Regions from separate parts of the Homo sapiens genome. Here all the other regions are linked to region 2. The links are contacts of gene promoters, found by promoter capture Hi-C in blood cells and fetal thymus (Javierre and others, 2016). All regions are on one chromosome and are shown on one strand. The core of a region is centred on a gene start or on the middle of the fragment in contact, and the rest is flanking DNA. Distances in the headings are between cores, read along the strand shown.

Region 1 (3,737 bases), core at 898-3,397, 1.3 Mb before region 2:
GGGCGTCTCCTGGGCCCCGCGTTGCAGACTGGGAGAGGAAAGAAAACCAAGACCACCCCTGGAGGACGAATGCAACGGCCCGTCTCCTTGGCGACGGGACGCCAACAGAGCCCGGCTCGGCTTGTACTTTTCTTTCAAGAAACTCTTGGTGGCTACCAGTGTGGACTTGTTTGGAGTTTTCCTGAATCGATACAGGAGAACCGAGAATCTCCAGTGGGTTGCGTTCAAAGCGGCGTGGCTCATAGAGGGTCATTTACATTTGTCTTCCAAGTCGAAGACTCCATCCTCTGCTCACCCCCATTCCACTCACAACCCCTCCCCACCTCTGCTCTTTGCGCCACACACACACCTGAGACAGAGCACTAAATGCATTCCAAGCCTGATGCTGATGCTGACCCACTGGGAGGACTCGGGCAAGTCACCCTCTTGGATCCTAAGGGCTTTTTTTCTTTTTTTCCTGTGAGATGGGTGACAAGGAAACGCTAGAGTTGGATTACATCAATGGTTCCCAAATTTAAGCAACAGAATGAAGGGAAATTGAAAAATACAGATTTGGGCTGGGCTTGGCTGCTCACCCATGTAATCCCATTGCTTTGGGAAGCCTAGGAGGGAGGATGGCCTGAGCCCAGGAGTTTGAGACCAGCATGGGCAACATGGTGAGGTCTCATCTCTACCAAAAATTAAAAAAATTACCCAGGTGTGCTGGCACACACCTGTGGTCCCAGCTATGGGGGAGGCTGAGGCAGGAGGATCACTTGAGGAGGTTGAGACTACAATGAGCCGTGTTTCGGCAACTACATTCCAGTCTGGATGACAGAATGAGACCATGTGCCAAAAAAAGAAAAACGAAGATTCACAGGACTCACCCCAGACTCACTAAATCAGAATATCTGGAAATGGCATCTGAGGCTCTCCTTTTTTTTTTTTTTTTAAGAGACGGAGTCTTGCTCTGATAATGACATGAGCCACCTCACCAGGCCAGATGCTGCATTTTTAAAAATCCCCTTACCCACCCACCCACAACTTGGTGAAAAAGTTCAAACCTACAGAAAAGTTGAAAGTCGAAAGAAGAATACAATGAAAATACATATAGGCTTCACCTAGATTCGGTTAGATTTTGAAGGGAAGGGGAGGGTTAAAGAAAGAGTGGCGGCTCTACAGCAAATTCAGGCTTTATGTCCAGCATGAGACCTACAGAGGTGGGAGACCAGCTTAATGCCAGTGCCTACCGCTGCTTACAGGCTGGAGAAATTATAGGCCTGGGCGGGGAGGGGCCCGGTGGGTATGGCCTGCTGCCCGGGAAGATGTTGATAAGGTATTCCCATGATGAGGCAGTTTGGCCCTTGTTCTGGTGGAACGTGATGTTCCTGTCACTTTCTCCCAGCAGAATATGATAAGAGGCAGGCTGTTTCTCACTGCCTGAACCCCCGTGGAATGTTTCACTTTAAGCAAGGTCTGCAAAATGGCAGGGGGCTTACAAAATGGTGCAGTTTGGACTAACAGATTCACCCGTCCCCAGCACTGGTCACATTTTCTTGCTCTCTCTCTGTGAGCATGCACATACACACATTACAGAATCACCTGAAAAATATCTGTCAACACCATATTTAACCCTAAGTACGTCATCATGTAGCAAGGACATTCCCATGTGTAACTACAATGTCATTATCATGTCCGAAGATTTTAATGTGATACAATAGTGTTTAATATAAAATCCATTGCAAAGTTGAGACTCTGCATTTGAAAAAAAAAAAAAAAAGCTTCCCAGGTGATTGGTGCAGTTGGAGGAGGATTGGAAACCACTATTGGAGTTTTCCTGAATCGATACTGGATGATATCTAATCTCTCCTCTAGTGCCAGCCTTTTGTGGGTTCATTCATGCATCACTAGCACCACAAGGCTCTGGGTAAGTGGGGTCACCACAGAACACGTGACACCAATGACGGACCTGGACTTCAAGGCCTTCCATATCAACAGTGGACAACACCACATTTACAGACTTCTCCAGACGGAGCTCCAACTGCACGTCCACATCCCAGAGCAGCCCTTGCATGGCAACATGAGTACATACATAGGCTCATCGTTTCTCCAACCTGCTTCCCTTCCAGACTTTCACGGAAGCATAGTTTGTGCATTTTTTAATCAAAGCCACTTGGCAGATCACATAGAAGTCAGGTGGAACAGTGAGGGGCAAGATAGTGGAGTAGTAGAAAGAGCATAGGTCTGATTTCTGGCTGGCCCATTTAAGTCACCTTGGACAAGTTACTGTAAACCCAGGTTTCTCATCCACAAGGTGGGGCTAATAATACCTCATTACAAGGATTAAGTGAGAAAACTTGTTGCCTATATCGTATATGTTCACTATCCAAAAAGGTTAAACGTTTGGTTGGTAAATATAATGGCCTCGAATTGATGGCCAGGTTAAAGCTGCCCTTTTGGCTAAGTCTCTTCAGGACTCTGTTGAAATGGGAAGACTGGGATAGATCTCCAAAGCTCCTGCTAACTCTAAACTTCTGAGACTTCATCCAAGCTTAACATCCATCAGCCTCTGCACCAGATAGCCCCTGCAGACCTCTGACTTCCTCTCCCACCCCCTCCCCTGCATTCACATGCATTCACTTAGGCTGGGCGTGTGCGACCTGTCTGTCACCCTGTGGGTTCACTGTGTGGATTCACTCTGTGCTCCAGCTGCTCTGGCCTTGTCCCAGGTCCTCCAGCAACCAAGTTCAGGACTTTTGCACTCACTTCCAGCCTGGAACACTCTTCTGCCTAGATTTTTTGCCTGCCCTTTCCATTTAGAACTCAGTTCAAATGTCACCTCCTCAGTGAGCCCTCTCTTACATCTAAAGTAGCACCCACCGTCCCCTAGTCACTCTCCATCACGTCACCCTGTTTTATTTTCCTTACAAGATAATCTGAAATTATCTTAGTTGATTTGTCATCTGTCTTCCCAAGTTGTTCCTGGAGTTCACCAAAAACTGGAATAAATGGAATGCACGCATGCATTAGTACGTCAATGGAGGGGGATTCTGTCCTACTTTCTTCGTTTCAGGAGCACTCTCTACCCCACCTGACGTCTAAAGGACCCAGAAGGAAAATGGGTAGGCAAATGTGCGCGCCTCCAAGGCCTAGCGGCAGCCGTGTTACCATGGCAGCGTGACGCCGAGGGGGCCGGAAGGCGACGCACTACTACTTCCGCTTCCTCAACAGCAGCACTTCCGGGTTGGGAGAAAGGTGGCGGCGCTTTCGGAGGGTAAGTTGAAAGCGCCTTTGTTGTTTCTGTTTTTCAAAATGCGCGCGTAAAAACTCAGCGTGGGGTGGTGGGTTTCCCCGTCTTCTGGGAGACCCGCCTTTTGGCCTGAGGTCTCCAGGCCGCGGTCTTTGCCCCAGGCCTTATCTCGGGGAAACTGAGGCTTGGGTGTTTTTTTTTTTTTTTTTTAAAGATGGAGTTTTGCTCTTGTCGCCCAGGCTGGAGTGCGGTGGCGCGATCTCGGCTCACTGCAACCTCCGCTTCCTGGGTTCAAGCGATTCTCCTGCCTCAGCCTCCCGAGTAGCTGGGATTATAGGCGCCCGCCACCAAGCCTAGCTAATTTTTGTATTTTTAGTAGAGACAGGGTTTCACCATGTTGGCCAGGCTGGTCTCGAACTCCTGACTTCAGGTGATCCACCCGCCTCGGCCTCTCAAAGTGCTGGGATGACAAGCGTGAGCCACCGCGCCCGGCCGCGGCTTGGGTCTT
Region 2 (3,685 bases), core at 10-2,509:
AGCACGGTAGCTCACGCCTATAATCCCAGCACTTTGGGAGCCAGAGGAGGGCGGATCACGTTAGGTCAGGAGTTCGAGACCAGCCTGGCCAACATCGTGAAACCCAGTCTCTACCAAATGATATAAAAAATTAGTGGGGCGTGGTGGCAGGCGCCTGTAATACCAGCTACTAGGGAGGTTGAAGCAGGAGAATCGCTTGAGCCGGGGAGGTGGAGGTTGCAGGGAGCCGAGATCATGCCACTGCACTCCAGCTTGGGTGACAGAGCAAGACTCTGTCTCAAAAAAAAAAAAAAATCACTATTCTAAACATGGTATTACTATGCCCTAAATGCATTTTAGTGATTTATTGTTCACACAGATGCCTAAAATCTTCCTGCAACTTACTTCTTTTCACTATTTAAAACAGATGTAGCCCGTCTGTTGTACCCTCATTCTGTCAGAACCCATATAAGAACTATTAAACACACCATCCTGAAGTTATCCCTGGGGGACTCCCACGTTGCTATCACTGGGACCACTTGGCCCTCCCTTTAGGTTCCTGACTTTAGGCTGATATACCGAGGTCAAAATAGTCTTCCTAGTCCAATCAACTAAAGGTTCTGCAGGATGGATGACCTTCCCTGACTCTACGTTAGGCAAGCCCGTATCACCTTACAGAAGTACTGGGAGAGCAAAGGTCTTAAATGATGCTGGCTTTCAGCCCCGCGTCAAATGTGACTTTAGGGAAATTACTTTCCGAGCCTCAACTTACTCCTCTACGTTAACGACTACTTCGTAGGGCTGCCGCGATGACTACCACAGTGCCTGGCACACAGTCAACACTCAATAAACAGCAGTTATTGCCACTATTGTGACCGCCCCAGGAAGTAGCTAGGGTAACTCAACAGCCGTGCACGAGACCAGGATGGGACTGGGAAACTGCATTCGGTGGGGCTATCACGCCAGCGGCGCGGCAGACGCGCTGGTGAGAGCTGTGAACGCGGTAAACTGTTCAAGCAGGAGGCGGGACAGCCAGCACCGCGCTTCGCCTTTCAGCTGGGCTCCAAGGCAACGCCAGGACTAAAGAAGGGAGGGAGGCCCCGGTTAGTCTCTGACCTTCATCTCCCGCTCGGGAATCATGGCATCCATCTCGTCTCCCATCGCGCCGCCCTCAGTGTGTCGAAGCAGCCAACGCTGCCTCCCACGGCCTTGCCCACGGAACCCAGGCCGCTCGACAGCAAACTTCCTCCCCTCAGCGCCAGCGGCGCGCAGTTGACCTCGCATTTCCGGCGCGCTTTGGTGACGTCAAGCTTGGTCAGAGGAAGCCGCGGAACCTAGCGAAGCCGCGCGTTCTTCCGGCCGCCGCTCCCCATTGGCCAGCTCGGGCTGAGTAGTGGCGTGGCCGTGAGGTCCCTGCGCCTGCGCCCTGGATGGTCCTGGTGCCGCTCCCGCCTTCGCAGCCAGCGCGGGCTTACCTAGTGTTAAGTCTCTCTTCTTGGGTGGCCCACGCCTAAGCGACCTATGCTTCTTGTTCTTCTGAAATCTTACAGTTCCCCTTAGATGTAGGTTGGCTATTGGTAGCTTCCGATTCAGATAAGTTTGGAACTTGACAGATGTTTTCGGGGGGCTGCTTTAGAGAGAGGCTTTGGACTATGCAAGGGGAGGAAGGGAGGTTCAGAAAAACGGGGTCGGGGGGTCGGCAGGGACGACTCTTAAAGTGTGGAAGGTGGAAGGCTGGGAGGGGAGATTAAAGGGCACCGAAGACCAGCTTTGTTTGCTCCTATCAAGGTGATCCTTTCCAGAGCAAGAGCCATATCCATGTCTAGTCGCACGAGTTTGTGCCAAGTCCTTTGCAAAAACCTTCAGATGTGGGATCTCATGTAATCTTGAAGACATCTTAGTCGTCCTAGGGGTTATTTATTTAATTGATGAGACGCGGGTGGCTCATGCCTATAATCCCAGCACTTGGGAGGCGGAGACAGGAGGATTGCTTGAGACCAGGAGTTTGAGACCAGCCTCGGCAACATGGCGAGACCCCGTCTCTATAAAAAACAAAACAAAACCACAAAAATTAGCCAGCAGTGATGGCATGCGTATGTAGTCTCAGCTACTCGGGAGGCTGAGGTGGGAGAATTGCCTGAGCCCAGGAGGTTGAGGCTACAGGGAGCTGTGATTGCACCATTGCACTCCAGCCTGGGTGACAGAGCCAGGCCCTGTCTCAAAAAGTAAATAAAAGGCCGGGCGCGGTGGCTCACGCCTGTAATCCCAGCACTTTGCGAGGCCGAGGCGGGCGGATCACGAGGTCAGGAGATGGAGACCATCCTGGCTAACACGGTGAAACCCCGACTCTACTAAAAATACAAAAAATTAGCCGGGCGCGGTGGCGGGCACCTGTAGTCCCAGCTACTCGGGAGGCTGAGGCAGGAGAATGGCGTGAACCCGGGAGGCGGAGGTTGCAGTGAGCAGAGACAGCGCCACTGCAGTCTGGCCTGGGCGAAAGAGCGAGACTCCGTCTCAAAAAAAAAAAAAAAAAAAAAGTAAATAAAAATAGGCTGGGAGCAGTGGCTCACGCCTGTAACCACAGTACTTTGGGAGGCCGAGGTGGGTGGAACACCTGAGGTCAGGAGCTCGAGACCAGCCTGGCCAACATGGTGAAACCCCGTCTCTGCTAAAAATACAACAATTAGCCGGGTGTGGTGGCGGACGCCTGTGTTCCCAGCTATACAGGAGGCTGAGGCAGGAGAATCGCATGAACACAAAAGGTGGAGGTTGCAGTGAGCTAAGATTGTGCCACTGCACTCCAGCCTGGGTGACAGAGTGAGACTCTGTCTCAGAAAAAAAAAAAAAAAAAAAAAAAAATATATATATATATATATATATACACACACACACACACATATATATATACACACACACACATATATATATATATACACACACACACATACACATACATAATAATAATTGATGAGGTAAGGGAGGCACAGAGAAGTTGAGAAAATTCTCCAATAGCCCTCAGTCAGAAAGTGGTGGTGACAGGATTAGAATTGAGATCGTCTGGATAAGGCTGACTGATGGTATTAAAGTCCTTCATAGAATACATTTCTGTAGTGAATTATAAATGCTCTAGGACAGAGGTTCTTTTTTTTTTTTGAGACGGAGTCTCACTCTGTCACTCATGCTGGAGTGCAGTGGCGCGATCTCGGCTCACTGCAAGCTCTGCCTCCCGGGTTCACAGCATTCTCCTGCCTCAGCTTCCCAAGTAGCTGGGACTACAGGCGGCCGCCACCACGCCCGGCTAATTTTTTGTATTTTTAGTAGAGACGGGGTTTCACCGTGTTAGCCAGGATGGTCTCCATCTCCTGACCTCGTGATCCGCCCACCTCAGCCTCCCAAAGTGCTGGGATTACAGGCGTGAGCCACCGCGCCCGGCCGACAGAGGTTCTTAACTTGGACCTCATGGGTTGGCTCCAGGGGGGTCGGATTGTGCCATTTACTGTTTGGCTTGCAGCACATTGCTTATTCAAGCCTACTTTTCAGTTGTGAAACAAGGATGACATAATAGAACCTGTCTCTTGCAGGGAGGTGGTTAGGATAAGTGAATTTCAGCTGTCTCAGACAAAAGGCACAGGACATGCTCATTTAATCTCTTACTATATTAGCTAGTTCGCAATTTGCTGAGCCCAGAACCAGCCCCAAAATACAC
Region 3 (3,693 bases), core at 314-2,813, 1.3 Mb before region 2:
CAGCTACTCAGGAGGCTGAGGCAGGAGAATCGCTTGAACCCAGGAGGCGGAGGTTGCAGTAAGCCGAGATCATGCCATTGCACTCCAGCCTGGGCAACAGAGCAAGACTCCATCTCAAAAGAAAAGAAAGAAAGAAAGAAACCTGAAAGGAAACACAGTGAAAAGTGTCCCCTTACCACTCACCAGCCACGCGTAGCCCTACAGGAAACCAGTATCTATTTTCCGTAGATGGTTTATGCAAAATGTCTGCAGGATCTGAGTGATGTTCTGATGGCTAATGTTGGCTATTTATACCTACTCTCTTTTGTTACTGCTTGAATAGGAGTTACCAGAGATTGTCTTTTCAAAGCACCAGCTTTGATTGCGTTGACCCTATCTTGTGATTATTCTAATGTCAGCTCTTTATCACGCCCTCCCTTCAGCTCTCTTTGAGTTTATTTTGCTGCTGTTCTTCAACTTCTTGAGATGGGTTCTTAGCTCATTTTCCATTTTTCTTTCTTTGTAATATACATTTAAGGCCATATGTTTTCTTCTAAGTACTGCTTTATTAGCAATGCCCAATTATTTTTTTCAGAAACTTTATTAGGAAAATTTTAGACAGATACAAAATAAATGAAGCTTCATGTACCCATCACCCCAGTTCAGCAACTGTCAAAATCCAGCCGTCCTTATTAAACATCTACATTCACTCCCTCCAATTACTGTTATCTGTTTTGGTAAATTTTACATACTTTGCAGCCTTAGTACCATTCAAAATTCAAATAATTCTAGTAATTCCATTTCTAGAAATACATTCTACAAAACAACTTCACACATACATGAAATGACTTGTATACAGAGTAACTGACTGCAAAAGGCCTGTTAATAGGGGACTGGCTATATATGTATTTTACCCATATAGTGACATTCTTTATAGCTACAAAAAATCATGAGAAAGCCCCTCGGTGGTGGGGCAAAGAAAGCGCCAAGATACAGTCTTGGGTGAGGAAACACTGCGTGGTTGCAGGGTGGTGTGCCAGCGCCACAGAACAGGAAAGCTGCAATGTGTGTGTTTATTCGAGACTTCCAGTCTCTGTGCTCTGGACCAAATAAATCAGACCAGCCCTCCCTCCAGCCCACCTGCCACCGAAGACACCCAAGAAAGGCAAATGAAATGTATGCAAAGTCTCTTAAAGGCTTCAAAAAGCTAAACAAGTTGCAAGAGTAACAGAAAGAACCCCGCATCCCCTTTACCCATAGTCGCCTCTTCTGAACATTCTGCTACGTTCACTTTATCATCCCTCTCTCCCTCCTCCAAGGGAATACGGTTTTTCCCATAACCATTCAAGAGTTAGTGGCAGATACCACTTCCCAAGCAAGGATGTTATTTTACATAACCATAGTACAATCGAGAATCAGGAAGTTTCACATTGATATAGTACACCCTCTAAAACATAGTCCACATTCAGATTTCACCAGTTGTCCCAGTAATGTCCTTGATAGCATTTTCCCCCTTTAATAATTGTTCCATTTCCTTAGTGTCCTTTTTTTTTTTTTTTTTGAAGACAAGAGTCTTACTCTGTTGCCCAGGCTGGAGTTACAATGGTGTGATCTCAGCTCACTGCACCCTCTGCCTCCCAGGTTCAAGCAATTCTTGTGCCTCAGCCACCTAAATAGCTGGAATTAGAGGCATGCACCACCCTGCCTGGCTAGTTTTTTTTTTAATTAGTTAATTTTTTTTTTTTTGAGACGGATTTTCACTCTTGTTGCCCAGGCTGGAGTGCAACAGCGTGATCTCGGTTCCCTGCAACCTCCACCTTCCGGGTTCAAGCAGTTCTCCTGTCTCAGCCTCTGAATAGCTGGGATTACAGGTACCTGCCACCATACCTGGCTAATTTTTGTATTTTTAATAGAGACAAGGTTTCACCATGTTGGCCAGGCTGGTCTCAAACTCCTTACCTCAAGTGATCCACCCACCTCAGCCTCCCAAATTGCTGAGATTACAGGCGTGAGCCACCACACCTGACTTTTTTTTTTTTTTTTTTTTTTTGTATTTTTAGTAGAGATGGGGTTTTGCCATGTTGCCCAGGCTATGCTTGAACTCCTGGCCTTAATCCCTCTCAAAGTGCTGGGATTACAGACGTGAGCCACCATGCCCGGCCTTCCTTACTGTCTTTTAATCTATGAAGATCGTCCATCTTTGCTGTTGATGGTAGTGAAATTTTGGAGGAATACAGGCTAGGTGTTTTGTAGAATGTCCGCAGTTGGCACTTGTCTGGTATTTCCTCTTGAGGAGATTCAGGCTGTGTCCTTCGGGCAGGAGTACAGCATATTCCTGATGTTTGCTATCACTGCATTACGTCACAAGGTACATAATTCTCGTTTTGACTTTTTTTTATTATTTAGCTAAGGCAGCATCTGCCTCTTTTCCCCACTGTATAAAAATACTGGTTCTTCCTTTGGTGGTAAGAAATGGCTGTGGGAAGACATTTTAAGACTATATAAAGATCCTGTTCCTCTTTAAGCTTCTGTCAGTTTCCTTGTGGTTTTCATTTGCATTTCTCATGTGAGAAGTGAGATTGAACATGGCTCTTGTGTTTATAAGCTGTCTCTCTTTCCCTTCACTGTGAGCCTTCACTGCACATAGCTCTTGCATTTTAATCAGTTCCTGCGATTGGAGGGCCCACCACTCTCGATATCTCAACTTACTGCTTGCTACGCAAGGGAGAGCTGGGCTGCAGAGCACAGGCCCTCTACGTGTTGCCGAGCATCATGGGGCTCGGGGATCAGTGACTTTCAGATGCAGGGATGTTGAGGGATTGTTTGGCCTTTGGTTTTGGAAGGTAGACAGTGGGGTGAGGCTGCTGCAGCCTGGCTGACTTCCAGAAGTGTGGCTACTGGTGTGAGGTCGCCATTGGTCCATTAGGAAAGATTTTGTTTTGTTTCTAGTCAATATTCTGCGGAACCATTAGGGAGGGTTTAAACTGGTTCTGGTGGTTAGTTATTTATGGTTTGGGATTATAACCAAACAAGAAAGGACAATCCGTCTCTTCCTTCTTGAATGTGGAGAATTGGAAATTCTTAGTCCAGGCCCTGCCAGGACTCACAGATACATGCCGTGGTCCCAAAGTCTTTTCTTTTCTAGCTCATCTGAGGGGCAGGGTGCCCACTCTTCAGCATCATAGGCCCCAAGCAGGGAGGGTGCCAGGTGCTTTGAAGGAGGTGACGCTGATGTGCACCCCACCAGCTCCCATCTTGAGAACGACTTACATTGACAAAGCCCTTTATAATGTCAAACCACTTTTTAAAAATTCAACTTTTCGGCCGGGCGTGGTGATTCACGCCTGTAATCCCAGCACTTTGGGAGGCCAAGGCGGGTGGATTGCTTGAGGTCAGGAGTTTGAGACCAACCTGCCCAACATGGTGAAACCCCATCTCTACTAAAATACAAAAATTAGCTGGGCGTGGTAGCAGGTACCTGTAATCCCAGCTACTGGGGAGGCTGAGGCAGAATTGCTTGAACCCAGGAGGAGGAGGTTGCAGTGAGCCGAGATTGCGTCACTGCACTCCAGCCTGGGCCACAGAGCCAGACTCCATCTCAAAAAAAAAAAAAATTCAGCTTTTCCATTAAATTTGTGTATGCTTTGTGACATTTCTTCAGATCACATGATTTTTAAAACTAAAATGGGTTTTTATGGTTTTAAATAAAATTAC
Region 4 (3,977 bases), core at 301-2,800, 1.2 Mb before region 2:
TTTGAGACAGAGTTTCACTCTGTCACCCAGGCTGGAGTGCAGTGGCGCAATCTTGGCTCACTGCAACCTCTGCCTCCCACGTTCAGGCAGTACTCCTGCCTCAGCCTCCCAAGCAGCTAGGATTGCAGATGCGCACCACCAGCTAATTTTTGTATTCTTTTTAGTAGAGATGGGGTTTCACCATGTTGGCCAGGCTGGTCTCGAACTGCGGACCTCAAGCAGTCTGCCCACGTCGGCCTCCCAAAGTGCTGGGCTTACAGGCATGAGCCACCGTTCCCAGCTTACTTAGGTTTTTTAACCTCCTTCTAACCTTTCTCCCTGAGTGGAGAGTTTTTAAACATTTTTAAAAACTGCCTCTCCTGTGAATTTTATTACCACCAATATATTGTGTCTCTCTTTATGTACTGTATGTTTATCTGAGCTTTATATCTAAAAAGAGGAGGGCTTTTTCACGTCCCACTAACTAGTTTTAGATCTCTTTGAGGGTGACATCACTCCTGATGAGAATGCTGAGCTAGGTCCATTCAGTTTATGAAATGAACTTAAGTTTGTAGTTGGTAACTTTTTTCCCCATTCCAAAATCTGTACTTTGAAAATATTGGTAAGTCTGGGTCTCTATATATTTTCTATCGGTACTGTGTTGTTTTGAGCCTTCTCTGTAGCACAACTTTATGTTGCCTTATGATACTTATTCCTTATACAATGCTTTTATTTTTCTGTATTTTTCGTATGTCAAAAATAGAAGGATTTTTTTAGTTTAGTGAATCAGTGATTGATAAGCCAGCCAGCAGAAGATTTGGGTTTTAGTGACACATTTTAAATTGAAACCAGGGTCACAAGTTGAAAGTGTACCTATTCTTGACACACAGTAGGTCTGAAGTTGGTTTTCTTCTTGATGTCATCTTTTCTGGCTGTAGGTACAGAATGAGCACATGTTGTTGGTGTACGCCAGGTGGTGCTTCCACCATTGACTTCCTAAAGCGCTATGCTTCCAACACTCCGTCCGGTGAATTTCAAACAGCCGACGAAGACCTCTGCTACTGCTTGGAGTGTGTGGCTGAGTACCACAAAGCAAGAGATGAATTGCCATTCTTGCATGAGGTAAAATATATTAGATGGGCAATATTTTTCAGAGCTTGATAGCTGGGAAGAGAGTAAGTTTGAACTCCGTTGGAAGTATTCAGAGAAATGATGATACGATTTCAACTTTGTGGGTTTTTTTTTTTGTTTTTGTTTTGTTTTTGTTGTTGTTAGAGATGGAGTCTCACTCTGTCACTCAGGCTGGAGTGCAGTGGAGTGATTATACATATATCATTTTACACATTCGAGTATATTCTTAGGACAAATTCCTGAAAGTGGAAGTGCTGTCTCATGATTTTCCATGGGCCACATGGGTTTTCATAGTTTGTTTTGCTATGTTTTGGAGACAAGGTCTTTGCTCTGTTGCCCAGGCTGGAAGTGCAGTGGTGCGATCACGGTTCACTGCAGCCTCAACCTTCTGGACTCAAGCCATCCTCCCACCTCATCCTCCTGAGTAGCTGGGACTACAGGCATGTGCCACCATGCTCTGCTAATTTTTAAAATTTTTTTGTAGAGACGAGGTCTTATTATTTTGCCCAGGCTGGTCCTGAACTCCTGAGCTCAAGTGATCCTTCCGGTTTGGCCCCCCAGTGTTGGAATTACAGGCATGAGCCACCATGCCTGGCCGACTTTGAAGGCTAATATAAGTCAAGTACCTAACTCATTGCCTGGTATATACTAGGTGCTGAGTAAATGTTTATCACGGATGGAATTGAAACCTGGATCAGAATTTTATGATCTGTTGCTTTTAGTCACATTGGTATAAAATAATTTAATGAAATAAAGTCATTGGGAGGGGATTTGTTTCATAATTTTTTGGTCAGTGCTATAATACATGCATGTATCTGAGTATCTGAATGGCCTGGGTTTTTGTTAGTGGGTTGTTTTTTTTTTGTTTTGTTTTTTTTTTGAGACAGAGTCTCACTCTCTTGTCCAGGCTGGAGTGCAGTGGCGTGATCTTGGCTCACTTCAACCTCTGCCTCCCAGGTGGGTTCAAGCGATTCTCCTGCCTCAGCCTCCCAAGTAGCTGGGACTAAAGGCACGTGCCACCACACCCGGCTAATTTTTTATTTTTAGTAGAGATGGGGTTTTACCATGTTGGCCCAGCTGGTCTCAAAACTCCTGACGTCAGGTGATCTGCCCACCTCGGCCTCCCAAAGTGCTGGGATTACAGCTGTGAGCCACTGCGCCTGGCCAGGGTTTTTTTTTTTTAATTGGTAATAATAACTTCTTTTTTTCTTTTTTTAATGGGCAAATGGCATAAACCTTTAAGGGCAAGCATATTTTCCAGTCATGATAACAAAAGTGAAAGATATAATTCTAAATATTTGGCTTTGAATATTTGGTTTATTTATTGATGAAAAACAGAACGTAGACCATAGAGATATATACAGTATATAGAGGAGAGGATGATTAGTAATGGACTTGTGTTGAGAAACGTGCACTTTATAAAGTTTTCTAATTATGAAGCTATCCAGCGTCTTTTATACCACAAGCTGCACTAAGGTAGTTAGCTATGGCTAGAACATAGAAGGGAAGACATAGAAGGGCCTCGGTTTTGCATTTGACAGAGAGGCTCCAGCTTCTCTTTTTTTTTTTTTTGAATGTAGTTGATAGGGATGTTGAGATATTTATAGAAAACTTCTACAAGAGAAGTGTTTAAGGCTGAGTGCTGTAGCTTACACCTGTAATCCCAGCACTTTGGGATGCTGAGGCAGGTGGATTACGAGGTCAGCAGTTTGAGACCAGCCTGGCCATCATGGTGAAAGTCCGTCTCTACTAAAATACAAAAATTAGCCAGGCGTGGTGGTGGGCGCCTGTAATCCCAGCTACTCAGGAGGCTGAGGCAGGAGAATCGCTTGAACCTGGGAGGCCAAGGTTGCGGTGAGCTGAGACCACGCCATTGCACTCCAGCCTGGGCGACAGCGAGATTCTGTCTCAAAAAAAAATAAAAAGTGTTTAAACATAGCATACTATTTTTTGTTTTCTTGTTTTTTTTCGTTTGTTTGGTTTTTTGTTTGAGATGGAGTTTCCCTGTTGTTGCCCAGGCTGGAGTGCAGTGGCGTGATCTTGGCTCACTGCAACCTCCGCCTCCTGGGTTCAAGCGATTCTCCTGCTTCAGCCTCCCGAATATGGGATTACAGGCATGCACCACTACGCCTGGCTATTTTTGTATTTTTAGTAGAGACGAGGTTCCTCCGTGTTGGTCAGGGTGGTTCTGAACTCCCGACCTCAGGTGATCCGCCCACCTCAGCCTCTCAAAGTGCTGGGATTACAGGCAGGAGCCAGTGTGCCTGGCCTGTTTTCTTTTTCTCTTAGAGGCAGGGTTTCCCTATGTCATCCAGACTGGAGTACAGTGGCACAATCATAGCTCACTGTAGCTTCAGATTCTTGGGCTCAAGTGATCCTTTTGCTTCAGCCTCCAGAGAAGCTAGGACTGTAGGCATGCACCACACCTAGCTAATTTTTCTATTTTTTTTTTTTTTAGTGACAGGGTCTTGCTTTGCTACCCAGGCTGGTCTCGAACTCCTGACCTGAAACAGTCCTCCTACCTCAGCCTTCCAAAATGCTGGGATTACAGCTGTGAGCCACTGTGCCTAGCCAATATCTCATACTCTGTGTACTCACTTTTCATAAAAGTGGCCACATTTGAATAGTTTTCTTTAAATCTAAAATACAAGCTCTAATACTTTACATTTCAGAATTTTTGTACTTAGGAAAAGGCTTTCTAGGTCGTCACATTCAGTGTATTTTGTTGATGATAAGACATAACGCACACTGCCCATTTTATTTTCCTCTAGGTTTTATGGGAATTAGAAACCTTACGTCTCATAAATCACTTTGAAAAATCCATGAAGGCAGAAATTGGAGATGATGATGAGTTATATATAGTAGAC
Region 5 (3,525 bases), core at 669-3,168, 1.2 Mb before region 2:
TGCTACTATGATCACCCATGTATCTCTTAGTGTTCTTCTGAATGCATTTTTGTTAAGTTTATATCCAGAAGTAGATTGTGGAATATTAGGGTGTGTATAAGTTCAACTTCAGTAAATAATGCCAAGCCTATTGTACAAAATTATATTCCACCAGCAGTATATGAGAAGTTGCATTTTTCTGTGTCTTCAGCAACACATTTGTATAGATTGTTTTGAGATTTTTAGCTGTTGGGCTGTGTGTATTGATGGTGTTTTGTGGGCTTTTGTAATGTCCTCATTAGGGAGATTGAGCATCTTTTCACATATTTAGTAGCTGTCTCAGTAACCTCTTTTGGAAAGTGCCTGTTCAAGGCTTTTGGTCATTTTCTGTTGTCTTTTTTTCAGTTGATTTGTAGGAGTTCTTTATATAATCTGGGTAGAAGTCATTTCCTCACTTTGACTTACATACTGACTCTTTTTAGTGATGTCTTAAAAATTTCTTTTTCATTCTTATTGAGAATTGCTTATTTGAACATAGTAAATACATCAGTCTTTTATTGTCAGTGCTCTGTGTCCCGTTTCTTAAATGAAGAGTAAGAAATCTTTCTCTGCTACAGGTTGCAAATTACATTCTCTTGCCTTCCTTTGCCCCCACCCCCATCACCCATGGATCAGGATCTCTCTTACCTTCTAGAACAAAGGTTAGCAAACTACAGCTCGCAGATCCACCTACCCCATGTATTGATTTTGTATTGCCCTAGGGTACATTTTTTATGTTCCCCCTTTTTTTTTTCTTTCTTAAATATAGAGATGGGGTCTTGTGCCGTTGCCCAGGCTGATCTCAAACTCCTGGTCTCAAGTGATCCTCCTGTGTCATCAGCCTTCTGAAGTGCTGGGATTACAGGTGTGAACCACCTCGCCCAGCTGGTTTTTACGTTTTTAAAGCTCTATAAAAAAGAGTATGTAACAGGCATTATGTGTGGCCCCACAAGCCTATCTGGCCCTTTACAGAGGAAATTTGGGAACCCCTTTTCTAGAAGCTTTCTTGTTTTGTTTCTGACTGAGGCATGTGGGTTGGGTTCCATTTTTTTTTTTTCCCCCAAGTAGAGGTCTGATTATCCCAGTACTATTTATTGAAAGACCATTTGTGCTTCACTGCACTGCTATGTTTGTCATGCGTCTGGAGTCCACTTAATGTCTGGGCATCAGTCTGTTCTTCTTGAGATCATTTGCCTACCCTTGGGCTCATATCACATTGTTTACTTAATCTAGCTTTATAAGAAGTTTTAATAACTCACAGAGCAAGTCCTCCTACCTTGTTTTGTTTTGTTTGTTCTGTTTTTTGAGATGGAATCTTGCTCTGTCGCCCAGACTGGAGTGCAGTGGCGCGATCCTGGCTCACTGCAACCTCTGCTTCCCGGGTTCAAGCAATTCTCCTGCCTCAACCTCCCGAGTAGCTAGGACTACAGGTGTGCACCACTATGCCTGGCAAATTTTTGTATTTTTAGTGGAGACGGGGTTTCACCTATTGGCCAGGCTGGTCTGAAGCTCCTGGCCTCAAGTTATCTGCCCGTCTTGGCCTCCCAAAGTGCTGGTGTGAGCCACGGCGCCTCACCCCTCCTACCTTGCTCTACTTTTTGAGTGCTTTGGCTATTCTTGGCCCTTTGCATTTCCATATAAATTTTAGAGGAAAAGAAGTGGAAATTTGGGAAGAATTGACAACTTTTAATACTTTCTAATTCATGAATAAGGTATATATCTTCAGTTATTTAGGTTAAATTTTTCTCAGTGTTTTATAGTTTTCTGTGGAGAGGTTTTGCATGTCATCTTCAGTTAGTGACTATGTTAGTGACTATCTCTAAAAAATAAGAGCTTAAAAATAAGTCATACCTAAAAAGTTACCAATAATCCCTTCATATCAGTCAGTGTTCAAATTTTCAGTTATCTCATAACACTTTTTTTCAGCTTAAGATCCAAAGTAGTCCACCCAATGGCATTGGTTGATAGGTCTTTTTAAACTAGAATTCTCTCATTTTCTTCCCTTGCAATTTTTTTGTTGAAAAATTAGTTTTATAGAGTTAATCATGGTCTGGATTTTGCTGATATTGCATCCCCTTGGTGGTGTTTAGAATGTGTCTCTGTCCTCTGTGTGTTTCCTGTATATTGATACCTGGAACTAGAGGATTGATCCAATTCAGGTAAATTTTTGTTACTTGTTTTTGGCAAAACTATTTTATAGTTGGTGGTATGTTCCATCAGCAGCAGCAGGTACGTGGTATCTGGTTTCTTTTTCTGATAATCACAGCTGCTTGTACTTAGTCACTAATTCATTAAAGGGAGCAAAATGGTGATACTTTAATCATTTTATGTTAGCTGGAATACTTCTCTAGAGAGAAAATTCTCTACTACTATTTGGTTACTCAGTAGCATAGTTTATAAAGGAAAGGCAGTATAAATACTTGCTGCTTGACCAGTTTTCAGAATAACGAGTTTAATTCACTAGTAGTCCGGGTGCGGTGGCTCAGGCCTGTAATCCCAGCACTTTGGGAGGCCGAGGGGCAGATCACCTGAGGTCAGGAGTTCGAGACCAGCCTGGCCAACATGGCAAAACCCCGTCTCTACTACAAATACAAAAATCAGCTGGGCATGGTGGCGCATACCTGTAGTCCCAGCTACTAGGGAGGCCGGGGCAGGAGAATCGCTTGAACCCTGGAGGCGGAGGTTGCAGTGAGCCGAGATCGTGCCACTGCACTCCAGCCTGGGAGACAGAGCAAGACTCCATCTCAAAAAAAAAAAAAAAAAATCACTAGTAAGTGCCAGTGGTGACTGGTAAGCTTAAAAAAGAACTATGAGTGCATGGATTGGTGTGCTTGTGTTTCAGTCCATTTCAGTCAGCTCCTTCTAGTTGGCTCTGAGGCTGTGTGCTATGACAAGATGTTCCAAGTTCATCATATATATTGTTTTTATCCCATAACTGAGCTTACAGTTTTCTAAGGAGCCTTGCTATATTTTAGTTGAAAGCAGTATTTCAACACCAATCTGGGCATGCTATATGCTGTTAGTGGGTAATACATCTAAATATAAGGATACATAAAGATTGTAAGTAAAAGATAACCATGCATATCCAAATTAAAAAAAAAAAACTTATTTAGCTCTGTTAATATCAAACTAAATAGACATTAAGGCAGAAAACATTATTATTGTTGTTATTATTATTATTATTTTTTTGAGACAGAGTCTTGCTCTGTCGCCCAGGCTGGAGTGCAGTAGCTGATCTTGGCTCACTGCAACTTCTGTCTCCCGAGTTCAAGCAATTCTCCTGCCTCAGCCTCCTCAGTAGCTGGGATTACAGGTGCTCACCACCACACCCAGCTAATTTTTGTATTTTTAGTAGAGACTGGGCTTTGCCATGTTGGCCAGGCTGGTCTTGAACTTCTGACCTCAGGTGACCCGCCTGCCTTGGCCTCCCAAAGTGCAGGGATTACAGGCGTGAGCCACCATGCCCAGCTCAGAAAGCATTATTTGAGATAAAAAGGGAGTATTTTG
Region 6 (3,619 bases), core at 1-2,500, 1.2 Mb before region 2:
TTTAAGGACCAAGTTAGAACCGGAGTCCTATTTGGATGATATGGTGACTTGCAGCCAGATCGTATACAATTATAATCCTGAAAAGACCAAAAAGGTATAAAACACTTTGAAAATTCAGATGCTATTTTATTGCCTTTATATTGTGTAGACTATTTTGTATAATTTGTTGAGTTGCAGATTTTGTGATATGTAGCTGTTCTCAATCTACTGCTATGTAAAAGCCCTTCTCATTGAACAGCAGATGTATTGTGTGTTGGGGAAGATGGACTCTAACTACAGTATGCATACTTTGGAAAATTAACTTATAAGTACATTTAGGGAAGATGGAAAGTTTATGGGGACATACATGGCATGACTAGAAATCAAAACTAGCTAGTGGACAGAAGGTGAGAGTACATAAAGGTGTTACCAATTTGTCTTTTTATGAAAACTCAAAATTCAATTTATATTTTCACTTTCTTGGGAGTTAGGTGTATTACGATTGTGATATAATTATATGCCACAATTATACCATTGTATAGCATAATAATGATGTGGTAAACCAAAATAAGAGAGTTGAGAAACGTATTTTTCTTAACGACTTGGGTGTTGAACCTGTCATAAGTGGTGCTTATTTATCTGAACATCAGCATTTCTTTCATTTTAGGATTCTGGATGGAGAACAGCCATTTGCCCAGATTATTGTCCTAACATGTATGAAGAAATGGAAACATTAGCCAGTGTACTTCAGTCAGATATTGGTCAAGACATGCGTGTTCATAACAGCACATTTCTATGGTTCATCCCTTTTGTCCAGTCCCTCATGGATCTTAAGGATTTGGGTGTGGCTTACATAGCACAGGTTGTTAATCATCTGTACTCTGAAGTCAAAGAAGTCCTCAACCAAACAGATGCTGTGTGTGACAAAGTCACTGAATTTTTTCTTCTAATTTTGGTATCAGTGATTGAACTGCATAGAAATAAAAAATGTTTGCATTTGCTGTGGGTAAGTTCCCAGCAATGGGTGGAAGCCGTCGTCAAATGTGCCAAGCTTCCTACCACTGCGTTTACACGGAGTTCTGAGAAATCATCTGGAAATTGCTCCAAAGGAACAGCAATGATATCTTCACTGTCATTGCATTCCATGCCATCTAACTCTGTACAACTTGCTTATGTGCAGCTGATTAGAAGTCTCCTTAAAGAAGGTTATCAGCTTGGGCAGCAGTCTCTTTGCAAGCGATTCTGGGATAAGCTCAACTTATTCCTTAGAGGAAATTTATCTCTAGGTTGGCAGTTGACTAGTCAGGAAACCCATGAGCTACAAAGTTGCTTAAAGCAAATTATTAGAAACATAAAATTCAAAGCACCTCCATGTAACACTTTTGTGGATCTGACTTCTGCATGTAAAATCTCTCCTGCATCTTATAATAAAGAAGAAAGTGAACAAATGGGGAAGACGTCTAGAAAAGATATGCATTGTTTGGAAGCTTCCAGCCCAACATTTTCTAAAGAACCAATGAAAGTGCAAGACAGTGTATTGATCAAAGCAGATAACACTATAGAAGGTGACAATAATGAGCAAAATTATATAAAGGATGTGAAACTAGAGGACCATCTCTTAGCTGGGTCATGCTTAAAGCAGAGTAGTAAAAACATTTTTACTGAAAGAGCTGAAGATCAAATTAAAATAAGTACAAGGAAGCAGAAGTCTGTAAAAGAGATCTCTTCATATACACCAAAGGACTGTACTTCAAGAAATGGTCCAGAAAGGGGATGTGACAGAGGAATAATAGTATCAACACGTTTGTTGACTGATTCTAGCACTGATGCTTTGGAAAAAGTGTCCACATCGAATGAAGATTTCTCTTTAAAGGATGATGCTCTTGCTAAAACCTCAAAACGAAAAACTAAGGTACAGAAAGATGAAATCTGTGCAAAGTTATCACATGTAATAAAGAAGCAACACAGGAAGAGTACTTTGGTCGATAATACTATCAATTTAGATGAAAATTTGACTGTATCTAACATTGAGAGTTTCTATTCAAGGAAAGATACAGGAGTTCAGAAAGGAGATGGTTTCATACACAATCTTTCTTTAGACCCTAGTGGTGTTCTGGATGATAAGAATGGAGAACAAAAATCTCAAAACAATGTATTGCCAAAAGAGAAACAATTAAAGAATGAAGAATTAGTTATTTTCTCTTTCCATGAAAACAATTGTAAAATACAGGAATTTCATGTTGATGGTAAAGAATTGATCCCTTTTACAGAAATGACCAATGCTTCAGAGAAGAAATCATCTCCCTTTAAAGATCTTATGACTGTACCTGAATCAAGAGATGAGGAGATGAGTAATAGTACCAGTGTGATTTATTCTAACTTGACAAGAGAACAGGCCCCTGACATCAGTCCTAAATCTGACACCTTAACGGATTCTCAGATAGACAGAGACCTTCACAAATTATCTTTACTAGCTCAAGCCAGTGTTATTACGTTCCCATCCGATTCACCTCAGAACTCATCGCAGCTGCAAAGGAAAGTAAAAGAAGATAAAAGATGTTTCACAGCTAACCAAAATAATGTTGGAGATACCTCCCGTGGACAGGTTATTATTATTTCAGATTCTGATGATGATGATGATGAAAGAATCCTGAGTCTTGAGAAACTCACTAAACAGGACAAAATATGCCTTGAGAGGGAACATCCAGAGCAGCACGTTTCAACAGTTAATAGTAAGGAGGAAAAGAATCCAGTAAAGGAAGAAAAGACAGAGACTCTTTTTCAGTTTGAGGAATCTGATTCTCAGTGTTTTGAGTTTGAAAGTTCATCTGAAGTGTTTTCAGTTTGGCAAGATCATCCAGACGATAATAATTCAGTTCAAGATGGTGAGAAAAAATGTTTGGCTCCTATAGCCAATACTACAAATGGTCAGGGTTGTACAGATTATGTATCTGAAGTTGTTAAAAAAGGAGCAGAGGGCATTGAAGAACACACAAGACCACGGAGTATTTCTGTTGAAGAATTTTGTGAAATTGAAGTAAAAAAGCCTAAGAGAAAACGATCTGAAAAACCAATGGCTGAAGATCCTGTGAGGCCTTCATCTTCTGTCAGAAATGAGGGCCAGTCTGATACTAATAAGAGAGATCTTGTGGGAAATGATTTTAAAAGTATTGATAGAAGGACTTCAACTCCCAATTCACGTATTCAGAGAGCCACTACGGTTTCACAAAAGAAGTCTTCAAAGCTTTGTACTTGTACAGAACCCATCAGGAAAGTTCCAGTTTCTAAGACCCCTAAGAAAACTCATTCAGATGCCAAAAAAGGACAGAATAGAAGTTCAAATTACCTAAGTTGTAGAACAACTCCTGCTATAGTGCCGCCAAAGAAATTTCGTCAGTGTCCTGAGCCAACTTCAACAGCTGAGAAACTTGGCCTGAAAAAGGGTCCTCGTAAGGCATATGAGTTGTCCCAGCGGTCTTTGGATTATGTAGCTCAATTACGTGATCATGGCAAAACTGTTGGAGTAGTTGATACCCGAAAAAAGACTAAATTAATTTCTCCTCAGAACCTGTCTGTCAGAAATAATAAGAAACTTCTGACTAGTCAAGAACTTCAGATGCAAAGGCAGATCAGACCCAAA
Region 7 (3,523 bases), core at 636-3,135, 1.5 Mb before region 2:
CAATCTTATAAAACAGCTGATAATTAATGTCTGAACTATTACATAACTGCAGATTTTCCTGCAAATTCATAATCTAAATAACAGAATTATAGAGCAAAAGCTTCAAAGGTGTTTAGTACCTAGCTTTCTAACAGTGCTACACTAAAACTGTCATCTGCGCTGCAGACTGTCCACCATTTAGGTTAGCGCGAAGGCATGCTGCACGGCACCGAGCAGATTTAAATCCACAGACTGCCAATGGGTGGAGTCATCAAAGTGCTGACACAGACTTCTTTACATTCCTACCGTCACACCAGTTTTAACCCACAGAGGGCTCTTGTAGAACTGCAGGGTCAACTCAGCATTCATTCACTTCAATCAGTCTAAAAAGACTGCTAAATGACTGATGGTTTATGTGATGTGCATATTAAAAAAAAAACAACAGTACAGAAGGGGAAGATGTTACTAATTAATTTCATAGAAGCCATTTGTCAACTATAAGAGAGCTATATAAGGATTTCCTGTTACTAGTTAGCAGTTGTGGTAAATGTTAACTGAGGCAAAATGACAGTCAAAATTTTATCAGAATACTCATGTCCACAACCACGACATTAATCCAGACTCCTACTCCTTCATACCTGTATAACTGCATTATATTTTCTTTCTTTTTTTTTGAGACGGAGTCTGGCTCTGTCGCCCAGGCTGGAGTACAGTGGCGCAATCTTGGCTCATAGCAAGCTCCGCCTCCCGGATTCACGCCATTCTCCTGCCTCAGCCTCCCAGTAGCTAGGACTACAGGCGCCCGCCACCACGCCCGGCTAATTTTTTGTATTTTTAGTAGAAACGGGGTTTCACTGTGTTAGCCAGGATGGTCTCGATCTCCTGACCTCGTGATCCGCTCGCCTCGGCCTCCCAAAGTGCTGGGATTACAGGCGTGAGCCACCGCGCCCGGCCCAACTCATTATATTTTCACCTTGAGCATTTACAGCGTGCCAAGAACTGGGCCAAGTGATTATGTGTGTTTAATCTTCCAAAAAACCTAAACAACGCTTCATTATCCCCCTTTTATAGATAGGCCTATCTTGTGCCAAAGCCCAGTCTCTTCACTTTTATTTTACACTGATCACAACAATCATCTTCTTGCCTCTATCCAGTAATGTTCCTGAACCACAGCAGGTCACTCTATGCTAATGAAACTGTAACAGCATCTTAAAGACTTCCTAGATTGAAGCCAACTTCCTCATACCGACCTTCCAAGTCCACAAACTGGTCTCATCTTACTTTCTCGGACTCTCTAGAAGACCTACTTGAGCTCATGTACTGATCCGTCATTATACAAACAATAATTAATTATGTTCATGACTTAAACGTGTATGCACATGGGATGAATGCCTCATTCCTGCCGCCTGGAATGCCCTTTCCTTCCTTCCTCTTACAAACCAAACACTACCTTCTTTAGGACTGCTGCAGATTCACCACCAGATGACCTGCCCCATAAGTCTCTCCCCTTACTACTCCCTCCTTTCTTTACATTCTCTCTGCTAAGGTATTCGATGTCTACTATACTGACATACATACTTTCCTTGAGTTGCTGTGCGGATGAACATCCTTGGAAACAGTTAAATTCCTTTACAGCAGAAGATACACCTTTTAAATCACCTTTCTTCTGCCTCCCTCCTTTTGTATTTCTCAATTTCATAGGGTTGCATCTGTCTATCTGATTTGTTTACACTTGAACAAATGTGTTCATATCTTCTTCAAGAAGATCTTAGAGGAAGCTTAGTCATACAAGCTGACTAACAATCTAACAACAGAAAGATGTTTGAAACTTGAATTAAGTATGCTACAAAGTGATGAGGGTTATCTGCACCCTACCTATAGCTAATGACTCATATTTTCAATGGTTTTCCAAAATAAGAGTTTACGAACACATAAACATGTTCTCTATGTGCGGATACACATCTTTACAGTGCTTATCACTACCTGACAGGACCTTATCATTTGTGCTTGACTTGCCAAAGAATGTAAGCTTCATGAGGGCAGGGGTTCTGTTTTGTACACTGCTTTATTTCCAGAACATGGGGCAGCACCAAGCAGAATGGTATTCAAATATCTATTGAATGTATGAATATACACTGACAGTTCACATGTAAGCGTACACCTCTATCAAGGATATATGGAAAGTTTTTACACCTCTAAGCAACTAAAAGGAACGCTATGGCTTACTACTTGACCTTGCGCTTGAAGTTTAAGATAGGTAGTTGTTTCGAATCTTTATTTTCATTCAACATCCCAAAGATGTTTAGCTAGTAAAGAAAAACTAAAGTACAAACCCCGAGATCCAGTATTTACCCGTTTGCCCAAGGAGAGGCGAGGACCATTCATAATAAAGTCACTGAAACAATTAAGACAATGGATGGGACCAGTTTTTCTTTTCTGAAGCTAAAGAGGCGCGAGAGGAGGACACACACAGTAGACAAAGCCAGCCAAGAACCTCGGAAAGTCGGCCCCAAACAATAGCAGCAACGACAGAGGCAGGCCCCGGGTTGGATCTACAGGGGGTGGAGTCTCAGAAAGCACCATCGAGTAACCCGCTCCATGTGCGGGCCCGACGGAGGGGCGAAGGAGGGGTTCCTGGGACTCAACTCCGGGAAGCCCCCTGGGTGTGTACCTGTGTTTGCGGCGGCGGGTGACCTGGGGAAACAGGGTGCAGACAGCTGCAGAGCTTTTCTTTTTTTTTTTTTAAGCTGTGGTAACCCTGGCTGCTTAATAAATCCCCAGCGCTCGGTGCGAAGAGGGAAATCCCCGGACAGAGTGTGGGATCGGATTCCCCTGGGACGGATGATGCGGCCGCGAGAGGGGGACAGGGGAAGACCCCAGGGATGGCGGGGGATGACTTACTTTGAGGAGACAGCTGTTGAGCGGTGCGGGCACCGAGGTGCGGTGGATAACCAGGTCCTGGCCCGGGTTGTGCACGTCGCAGATGAGCTCCAGCACAGCGATGCTGCGGGCCGTGGACACAGACACGCGGTGGTCCTCGGACCAAGCCAGCGGTTCCAGGCCGCTCACCGCATACTGCAGCTTCACGGCCGGCTCCCGCCGAGTCACCATGAGGCGGAATGCAGCGCTGGGCCCCGGGGCCGCGTCCGCTGCTGGCTCCTTCCCGCCCGCCTCGCCGCCCCCCTCTCCCTCCTCCTCCCCAGACGGCGCAGGCCCGTCGTCCGCGGGCCCCACCCGGGCCTGGTCGGCCGTGTTCATCTTCTCTCAGGTGCAGAGGTCGGACGCCCTGGCGCTCCACGCAGTCGCGCGACCACCTCCCGGACCGCCGCCGCCACCCCCAGCGCCCTCCGCGGCGGTTTTCTCCCCTCAGGCCCCGAGCGCCGCCGAGCCAAGAAGGACCCCGCCGTTGCCAGGCAACGCGGCCCTACCAGGTGGCCAAGGAACTGCCTGTCCAGAAAAAGGACAGCGAGCGGGGAGCCCCGAGGACCCCCTTTTCCCTGCCCAGGGATTGAGCTCCAGAGCCTGTTAGGGAGCTACCCAGACA

The links. The method cuts DNA at HindIII sites, captures the fragments that hold promoters and counts their contacts. A CHiCAGO score of 5 or more calls a contact.
Region 1: a contact is called between a fragment that was not itself captured here and the fragment with the promoter of NUP214 in region 2, in 3 of 17 cell types (monocytes, activated CD4 T cells and total B cells). The highest score is 7.1, in monocytes.
Region 3: a contact is called between a fragment that was not itself captured here and the fragment with the promoter of NUP214 in region 2, in 2 of 17 cell types (monocytes and naive B cells). The highest score is 6.9, in monocytes.
Region 4: a contact is called between a fragment that was not itself captured here and the fragment with the promoter of NUP214 in region 2, in 13 of 17 cell types (monocytes, total CD8 T cells, M2 macrophages and 10 more). The highest score is 14.7, in monocytes.
Region 5: a fragment that was not itself captured here is called in contact with the fragment with the promoter of NUP214 in region 2 in 1 of 17 cell types (M2 macrophages); the score reaches 7.0 in M2 macrophages.
Region 6: a fragment that was not itself captured here is called in contact with the fragment with the promoter of NUP214 in region 2 in 1 of 17 cell types (M2 macrophages); the score reaches 6.0 in M2 macrophages.
Region 7: a contact is called between a fragment that was not itself captured here and the fragment with the promoter of NUP214 in region 2, in 2 of 17 cell types (total CD8 T cells and non-activated CD4 T cells). The highest score is 6.4, in total CD8 T cells.

Annotation. Positions count from the first base shown.
Region 1 is chr9:132,406,306-132,410,042 of GRCh38, reverse strand. TTF1 (transcription termination factor 1) reads left to right here and starts at 3,203. Exons shown (of 11, transcript NM_007344.4): 1 at 3,203-3,253. The HindIII fragment of the contact is 770 bases long and covers 1,763-2,532 here.
Region 2 is chr9:131,123,160-131,126,844 of GRCh38, reverse strand. NUP214 (nucleoporin 214) reads right to left here and starts at 1,259. Exons shown (of 36, transcript NM_005085.4): 1 at 1,096-1,259. The coding sequence starts at 1,140. RefSeq lists an enhancer at 1,061-1,360. The HindIII fragment of the contact is 3,004 bases long and covers 1-1,291 here.
Region 3 is chr9:132,381,098-132,384,790 of GRCh38, reverse strand. The region is part of intron 9 of TTF1 (transcription termination factor 1); the gene reads left to right. Among named protein-coding and RNA genes, the nearest start is that of TTF1, 24 kb to the left of the region's middle. RefSeq lists enhancers at 904-953, 2,371-2,530. The HindIII fragment of the contact is 1,886 bases long and covers 621-2,506 here.
Region 4 is chr9:132,346,376-132,350,352 of GRCh38, reverse strand. It overlaps SETX (senataxin), which reads left to right. Exons shown (of 26, transcript NM_015046.7): 3 at 918-1,101; 4 at 3,882-3,977. The coding sequence starts at 925. Among named protein-coding and RNA genes, the nearest start is that of SETX, 6.6 kb to the left of the region's middle. The HindIII fragment of the contact is 4,966 bases long and covers 1-3,977 here.
Region 5 is chr9:132,306,936-132,310,460 of GRCh38, reverse strand. All of the region lies in intron 11 of SETX (senataxin), which reads left to right. Among named protein-coding and RNA genes, the nearest start is that of SETX, 46 kb to the left of the region's middle. The HindIII fragment of the contact is 1,794 bases long and covers 1,022-2,815 here.
Region 6 is chr9:132,327,527-132,331,145 of GRCh38, reverse strand. SETX (senataxin) reads left to right here. Exons shown (of 26, transcript NM_015046.7): 9 at 7-94; 10 at 647-3,619. Among named protein-coding and RNA genes, the nearest start is that of SETX, 26 kb to the left of the region's middle. The HindIII fragment of the contact is 436 bases long and covers 1,033-1,468 here.
Region 7 is chr9:132,670,313-132,673,835 of GRCh38, reverse strand. It overlaps GTF3C4 (general transcription factor IIIC subunit 4), which reads right to left and starts at 3,372. Exons shown (of 5, transcript NM_012204.4): 1 at 2,881-3,372. The coding sequence starts at 3,237. RefSeq lists enhancers at 220-269, 3,364-3,443, 3,129-3,523 and a silencer at 3,084-3,213. The HindIII fragment of the contact is 251 bases long and covers 1,760-2,010 here.